Linked DNA regions of Homo sapiens: region 2 is linked to region 1. The links are contacts of gene promoters, found by promoter capture Hi-C in human tissues and cell types (Jung and others, 2019). All regions are on one chromosome and are shown on one strand. Each heading gives the region's core, a stretch centred on a gene start or on the middle of the fragment in contact. The rest is flanking DNA. Distances are from core to core; before and after follow the strand shown. Region 1 holds the start of KCNK7 (potassium two pore domain channel subfamily K member 7). Region 2 has its middle 9.9 kb from the start of AP5B1.

Region 1 (3,338 bases), core at 84-2,583:
GAAAGTGTGAGCTGTATCCAAAGGGCAGGCCCCATTCTGCTCCAGTCAGGATGTTGCCTTGCAGGGATTCTGGCTCAGTGTGAGTGGGTTTCCTGATTTTCCAAAAGAAGTTGGAAATATGAGCTGGGCACAGTGGCTCACACCTGTAATCCCAACACTTTGGGAGGCTGAGGCAGGTGGATCACTTGAGGTCAGGAGTTTGAGAACAGCCTGGCCAACATGGCAAAACCCCGTCTCTACTAAAAACACAAAAATTAGCCGGGCATGGTGGTGCATGCCTGTAGTCCCAGCTACTCAGGAGGCTGAGGCAGGAGAATTGCTAGAACCCGGGAGGTGGAGGTTGCAGTGAGCCAAGATCGCACCACCGCACCCCAGCCTGGGTGACAGGGTCAGACACCGTTTCAAAAAAAAAAAAAGTTGGAAATACAAATTCCAATTCAAAAAATACTGAGACACTTTGTGGGGCAAAAAATACGAAAACCCAGGGCTGTGGGTCTCATTGCTGCTTTTCCCTGGGCCTGTGCCCACGCGATTTCTCTGCAGGACTCCCTCATCCCTGTCTGTGCCCTCCTGATCCACAAGCATCTCATGCCGACTTCCTCCCCTATCTTCCCTCACTCCCCCACCCGAGGCCATGGTCCTGATCTGTCCTTCCCAGGTTCATTCTATTTGCTTCCATCCAAGAATCCATCCCACTGTATTGTATCCCCTATCTGGCCACAGGCTGTGGCATCTGGGCAGCTCTCCTGGGTCTCAAAGGGTGCCTGGGGTGGGACTGGGGAGGCCACACCCTTCCTGGCAGTTGAAGTGGAGGCACCAGTTGGGGTGTGTTGGTGGGGAGCCCCAGCTGTGATGTCAGGCCTCACAGGGCCTGGGCTCCATCTGGCTCTTTGGGGCTGAAGGAAGGGCTGCATGAACCCCAAAGCCCCCAGGGAGCCATGGCCTCTTGGAGCCGCACCCCCCGACTTGGCTGCCTGGCTCTCTTACCTGTGGTGGTGAGGATGCTGGCAGCGAAGAGCAGGGCTGAGGGAAGGTCCCAGGTCCTGCCCTCTGAGCTGTTGCCCAGGGTGGAGACCCCATGGGCCTGGGTGGCCAGGGCAGTGCCCAGCAGCTCTTCCAGAGCTCCGGGTGGCAGGCAGGCCCTATGCTCTGCCTGGAAGGCTGCCAGCTCTGCCCTGAGCTCAGCCTGAAGCCTGCATGCAGGAGGCCCCTCCAGGGCCTGGAACACCACAGCCCCAAGCCCCAGGGCCAGCAAGTGGGCCACAACCAGGAGCCCGTATCGGGACCAGGGCCTTAGACCCCCCATGGCAGGCCGCTGGGGTGCTGTGGGAACTGGCGGCTCCACCTCAGGCACCTGGGAGGGGCTGGGCAGGGCGGGGCCAGGAGGAGGTGCTGTGTGGGTGGCTGGGACCCGGCTGGGATGGCTGGGGTGGCTGGGGTGTGAACAGGAGGGAGGTGAGCTGCATCACCCTTCCCAGGTCCTGGAGGCAAGACATTTGCCCATTTCACAGCAGCTGGGATGGTGGGGATGGGTGGAGGAAGGCGGCTGCGGTGAGGGGAGGAGGCGGAGGAAGCTGAAGCCTAGAGAGGACCTCACACTTATTCAAGGTCCTGCTCACTCAGGCACCCATACCACATTCATTCATTCATTCATTCATTCAAGTGCTTAGGGAAGAGGACAGGCACAGGTCCTTTCCTTCCTGGTGTTTACACAAGAAACCTCTTAGCAAAGAAACATGGCAACCTCACATTGTCATGAGTTCCATGAAGGAAACACCCTGGGTGATGGGAGAGCTCTGCGGGGAGCGGGGGGGTTATCTCACTGGGAAAGCTCTGCTAAGGAGGTGATATTTCAGCTGGGGAGTAAGAGGCCAGTGAAGGTAGGAATGAGCTTGGGGTGTGAGAGGAACAGAGGGCTGGCTGTGGCAGGGGAGAGTTGGGGGTGAAGGGGGGATAAGGACACAGGCCCTTGAGGATAAATGTGGTCCAGGGAGACCTACGCTGGGCTACTGTAGGCGTCATGGATGGAGTGATTTTGGCCTGGGTGGTGTGGTGGGAGAGGAATGGTGGCAGCTGGGAAGGATCAGGTGGGGGTGGGAGGTGGGGAGAGGACTCCAGGGTGCCCAGAGCACCCGGGCAGATGATACCCTTGCGCCCGATTGCCAGTTCTTCCTGAGAACGCTTTGTGCCTGCCCTCCTGACTCCCTGCCCCTGAACTGCAGACACAGAGTCTGGGCTGCCATGGGGCACCTGGGAGAGGGGAAGGGGGAGCCTGGGTTCCAACTCCTCTAACGTCAGAGGGGCTGAGGACAGAGGCCAAGGAAGGGACCCAGCCCTAGGGTATGGTGTGGGAGTGCCAGAGCCCCCATGGCAGTGTGAAGAGAATGGACAGAGGCCGAGGGAGGGACCCTGCCCTAGGGTATGGTGTGGGAGTGCCAGAGCCCCCATGGCAGTGTGAAGAGAACTGTCAGGGGTGCCAGATGCCATGGCAAGTCACCATACTGGGAGGTGGGTGGAACTTACTACTCTTTTTTTTGAGATGGAGTCTCGCTCTGTCGCCCAGGCTGGAGTGCAGTGGTGCAATCTCGGCTCACTCAACCTTCGCCGCCCGGGTTCAAGCTATTCTCCTGCCTCAGCCTCCCAAGTAGCTGGGGCTACAGGCACCTGCCACCACGCCTGGTTAATTTTTGTATATATATATATTTTTTTCAGTAGAGACGGGGTTTCACCATATTGGCCAGGCTGGTCTCAAAATCCTGACCTTGTGATCTGTCCGTCTCGGCCTCCCAAAGTGCTGGGATTACAGGCGTGAGCCACCATGCCCGGCCTATGGTTTTTTGTTTTTTTTTTTTTTGAGACGGAGTCTTGCTCTGTTGCCCAGGCTGGAGTGCAGTGGCGTGATTTTGGCTCACTGCAACCTCCACCTTCCAGGTTCAAGCAATTCTCCTGCCTCAGCCTCCAGAGTAGCTGGGACTACAGGCATGCACCACCACACCTGGCTAATTTTTGTATTTTTAGTAGAGATGGGGTTTCACCATGTGGCCAGGTTGAACTCCTGACCTCATGTGATCCGCCGGCCTCGGCCTCCCAAACTGCTGTGATGACAGGAGTGAGCCACTGCACCTGGCCGAGAAGAGCCTTGAATGACTGACCAAGGCTGGTGGATTTGGTCCCAGGAGAGGCATGCAGTACAAGGCATCCAACTGCCTATTGTTGGGGCATCAGGACACCAGGGTTGTATGATAGGTTGGGTCACCTGGTTACCTCCAAGAAAGGTGACAGGCTACATGTGGGGAGACAGCTTTTGAGTTTATTTGGCTTCTGGCTTCACTGGATCC
Region 2 (3,479 bases), core at 876-3,375, 180 kb after region 1:
ATCACACTGAGTGAATCTGCCCACATTCCCAGTGGGCTCTTCCAATGTGCAGAGTTTTTGCTCCTGGACAGTTTTCTTACAGTGTTAAATATTAGTTGTGGTTTACTTGTTTATTTTTTCTTCAGGGACTCCAATAATACACATGTGATTCCTTCTTTGAGTATATTCTGTTTCCATTACTTTCTTTGGACCCAGCCTACTTCTTTATCTCATTTTCATTCTCTTGCTTGGTTACCTGTATTCCTTCAATGCCCCTTATTAAATTTTTATTTGAATTTATTCTCCCTTGGGCATCTTGTAATTTAATCTTTACTTCTAGATAATTTTGTCTGTTTATTCCATTTCTTTCCTGAGTTCAACCAAATCTATTTTCATTTCTTCCTCTATTTTGTCTATTTCTGTTCTTTGTTTTTAAATTTCCCACCCAAAATGGTTTTGCATGTCTTCAAATGCTTGTTTTGCATATATTTGGTTCTGTTTAGTGTTGTATTACAGCTTTCTTCTTCTTCATGGCTATTGTTTCAGAGGTTTGTGTGAATTTTCCTTGGTTCATATGTGATGAAATTCATTTTCTGATATTTTGCAATAGCTGTATGAACCTATCTTTTCATTATTCATTTTTGTGGTATTGGGTGTTTTACAAGATCCCTAGATAACACGCCCTCTTCTGGCAACATTGTGAAGTCCAGATGCTTTAGTGAATTTGTTTTTGCAGGGGTGGGGGTTGTGGGCCTTCTTTTTTTTTTTGTCTTGGAGGGCAATTAAACTTCTCCATTTGCCTCTCTCTTCACACCCAAATGCCAAAGGACACTTTTCCTTTCTTTTGTGGGTAGTTGCTCCCCAAGGATCTATGTGTTTCCAAGACTGTGGCTTCACATTTCACGTATAACTTTTTTTTGAGACAAAGTCTCGCTCTGTCATCCAGGCTGGAGTGCAGTGGCACAGTCTCAGCTCACTGCAACCTCCACCTCCTCGGTTCAAGCGATTCTCCTGCCTTAGCCTCCTGAGTAGCTGGGACTACAGGCACATGCCACCATACCTGACTAATTTTGTATTTTTAGTAGAGATGGGATTTCACCATGTTGGCCAGGCTGGTCTCGAACTCCTGACCTCAGGTGATCCACCCGTCTTGGCCTCCCAAAGTGCTGGGATTACAGGCGTGAGCCACCGTGCCTGGCCTCACGTGTACTTTTAAACCTCCCACCTATTGTCCCAGCTCTGACACTACTGCAGACACTTTTGAACATTTTCAGGCTCAAGGTGTACTTAGTGTTTTTGGTGAGGTCTTAGATCAAGCTTAAGCCCCATTACAACTCCCTCCTCTCCTTTGCCCCAGTTTTCCTCAGCCAGTCTTGTGGCAGGTGGGGCTGGAATGGGTGCGTGGGAAGGAAAGTCTGAGCTGCCATTTGTTTTTCCTTTTTCTTTCTTTTCTTCTCTTCTCTTTCTTTCTTTTTTCTTTCTTTCTTGTCTCACTCTGTCACCCAGGCTGGAGTGCAGTGGTGCAATCAAAGCTCAGTACAGCCTGGACCTCCTAGGCTCAAATAATCCTCATATCTCAGCCTCCCAAGTAGCTAGAACTGCAGGTGCACACAACCACACCCAGCTAATTTTTGTATTTTTTGTAAAGACAGGTTTTCACCATGTTGCCCAGGCTAGTTTCGAACTCCTGGGCTCAAGGAATCTGTCCACCTCAACCTCCCAAAGTGCTGGGATTACAAACGTGAGTCACCACGCCCGGCCAGGTAATTTCTATGTTATTTGTTTTTCTTGTTCTTTTTAAGTTTGAGCATTCTTGTCTCCAAGTTATCCTGAGGGCTTGCTGTTGCATAATTTTATCTTTTCTCCTCATTCCATATTGTTTTTCTAGGCGACACTGGGGACCTACAGTGCTACCATTGTCCTCCTACCTGAAAGCCTCTGACAAAATATTGTCTTCCCATTCCATTGAAGGTTCAGAGGCCTCAGTGTCCAAGGGAGAATGCCGCCAGGAATGGACACTGCATAGCTTTTTTTGAACCGGAAGTAAAGGCTGCCCCGCTGTCGCTTTGCCTCAGGACCAAGAGCTCTAAGAGGAAGACTGACCCTGACTGTCCACCGAGAAGCTGTTGCTGCCATACAACGGAGACAAGGAGTCCATCGTATCCAGGGGATCCCCTGAAATATCTCTGAGGATTGCCAGGTTCAGTGACAGTGTTAATGAAAGCCTCAAGTGACTCAATACAAGCAGAATAACCAAGGACTCAGACCCTTCAGGAATGAAGTTTGGGTCACCTCATGAAGTAAAAGAACCAAAGGAACATAGAATGGGTATGGAAGAAAGAAGTTGTAAATATCAATCCAGGGTTAACAGATAAAATACAGGATGCTCAGTGTTAAAAGGAAAACTTTAGCTCAGGTAAGTTTCACAGTGTTTAACTGAGCAAAGAACAATTCAAGAATCAGGCAGCCTCTCATGCCAGAGTGGGCTCAGAGACTCCAGTGCAGCCACGTGGTGGAAGATTTATGGACAGAAAGGAAAATGAAGTACAGAAAACACACGTGAGATATAGAAACCAGCCAGATTGGTTACAGATTGGTGTTTGTCTTATCTGAACACAGTTTGAACAGTTGGCCACCTTTGATTAGCCAAAACTCAGTGATTGCCACAAGCGTTGGCTACAGTCTGTTTACAAGTCCATTTAGGTTATAGTTTACGATGTACAGAGAAACCTTTAGGCCAAACTTAAAATATGTAAGGAGGCAGCTTTAGGCTAAACGAGATTTAACACTGGTTATAGCCCGGGCACAGTGGCTCACACCTGTAACCCCAGCACCTTGGGAGGCTGAGGCGGGTGGATCACTTGAGGCCAGGAGTTGGAGACCAGCCTGGCCATCATGGCAAAACCTTGTCTTTACTAAAAATACAAGAATTAGCCAGGTGTGGTGGCACATGCCTGTTATCTCAGCTACTCAGGAGGTTGAGGCACAAGAATAGGCTGAACCCAGGAGGCAGAGGTTGCAGTAAGCCAAGATCACACCACTGCACTCCAGACTGGGCAACAGAGCAAGACTGTCTCAAAAAAAAAAGAAAAAAACAAAAACAACAAAAAAAACCCACCACTTATATCTGAACCTTGGAGAAACAACTACTGGTTTTTTAGTGTAAGTATGTCCTATTAACAACTAAAAAATTCATTGCTTCTCCAAAATTCAAACTTAAATGCACATCCTATATAATATTTTTATTTGCTAAACCTAGGAACCCTAATTAGGGCCTCGTAACTCATTGCACAAAAGATTCATACTTTCTTCCTTGCATGTAAAATAGAGATTAACCGATATCTTTCCCCATCTTTTCCCTTGTTTCATATAAAGTGTATTATTGATAATTGTTAACGAAAAAAAGAAAAGATACACAATTTATAAATTTTGAGAGGAGACTTTATTTCTTATAAAGGGTTAGGCTGGGCCTGGTGGCTCACACCTATAATCCCAGCACT

What was found. Contacts are between HindIII fragments. The study calls those that stand out against the background at their distance.
Region 2: a contact is called between a fragment that was not itself captured here and the fragment with the promoter of KCNK7 in region 1, in 3 of the 25 tissues and cell types used here (dorsolateral prefrontal cortex, lymphoblastoid cells and spleen).

What each region holds. Positions count from the first base shown.
Region 1 is chr11:65,594,467-65,597,804 of GRCh38, forward strand. KCNK7 (potassium two pore domain channel subfamily K member 7) reads right to left here and starts at 1,334. Exons shown (of 3, transcript NM_033347.2): 1 at 988-1,334. The coding sequence starts at 1,306. It overlaps MAP3K11 (mitogen-activated protein kinase kinase kinase 11), which reads right to left. Exons shown (of 10, transcript NM_002419.4): 10 at 3,291-3,338. The HindIII fragment of the contact is 18,543 bases long and covers 1-3,338 here.
Region 2 is chr11:65,769,325-65,772,803 of GRCh38, forward strand. No RefSeq gene overlaps it. Among named protein-coding and RNA genes, the nearest start is that of AP5B1, 9.9 kb to the right of the region's middle. The HindIII fragment of the contact is 6,006 bases long and covers 1-3,479 here.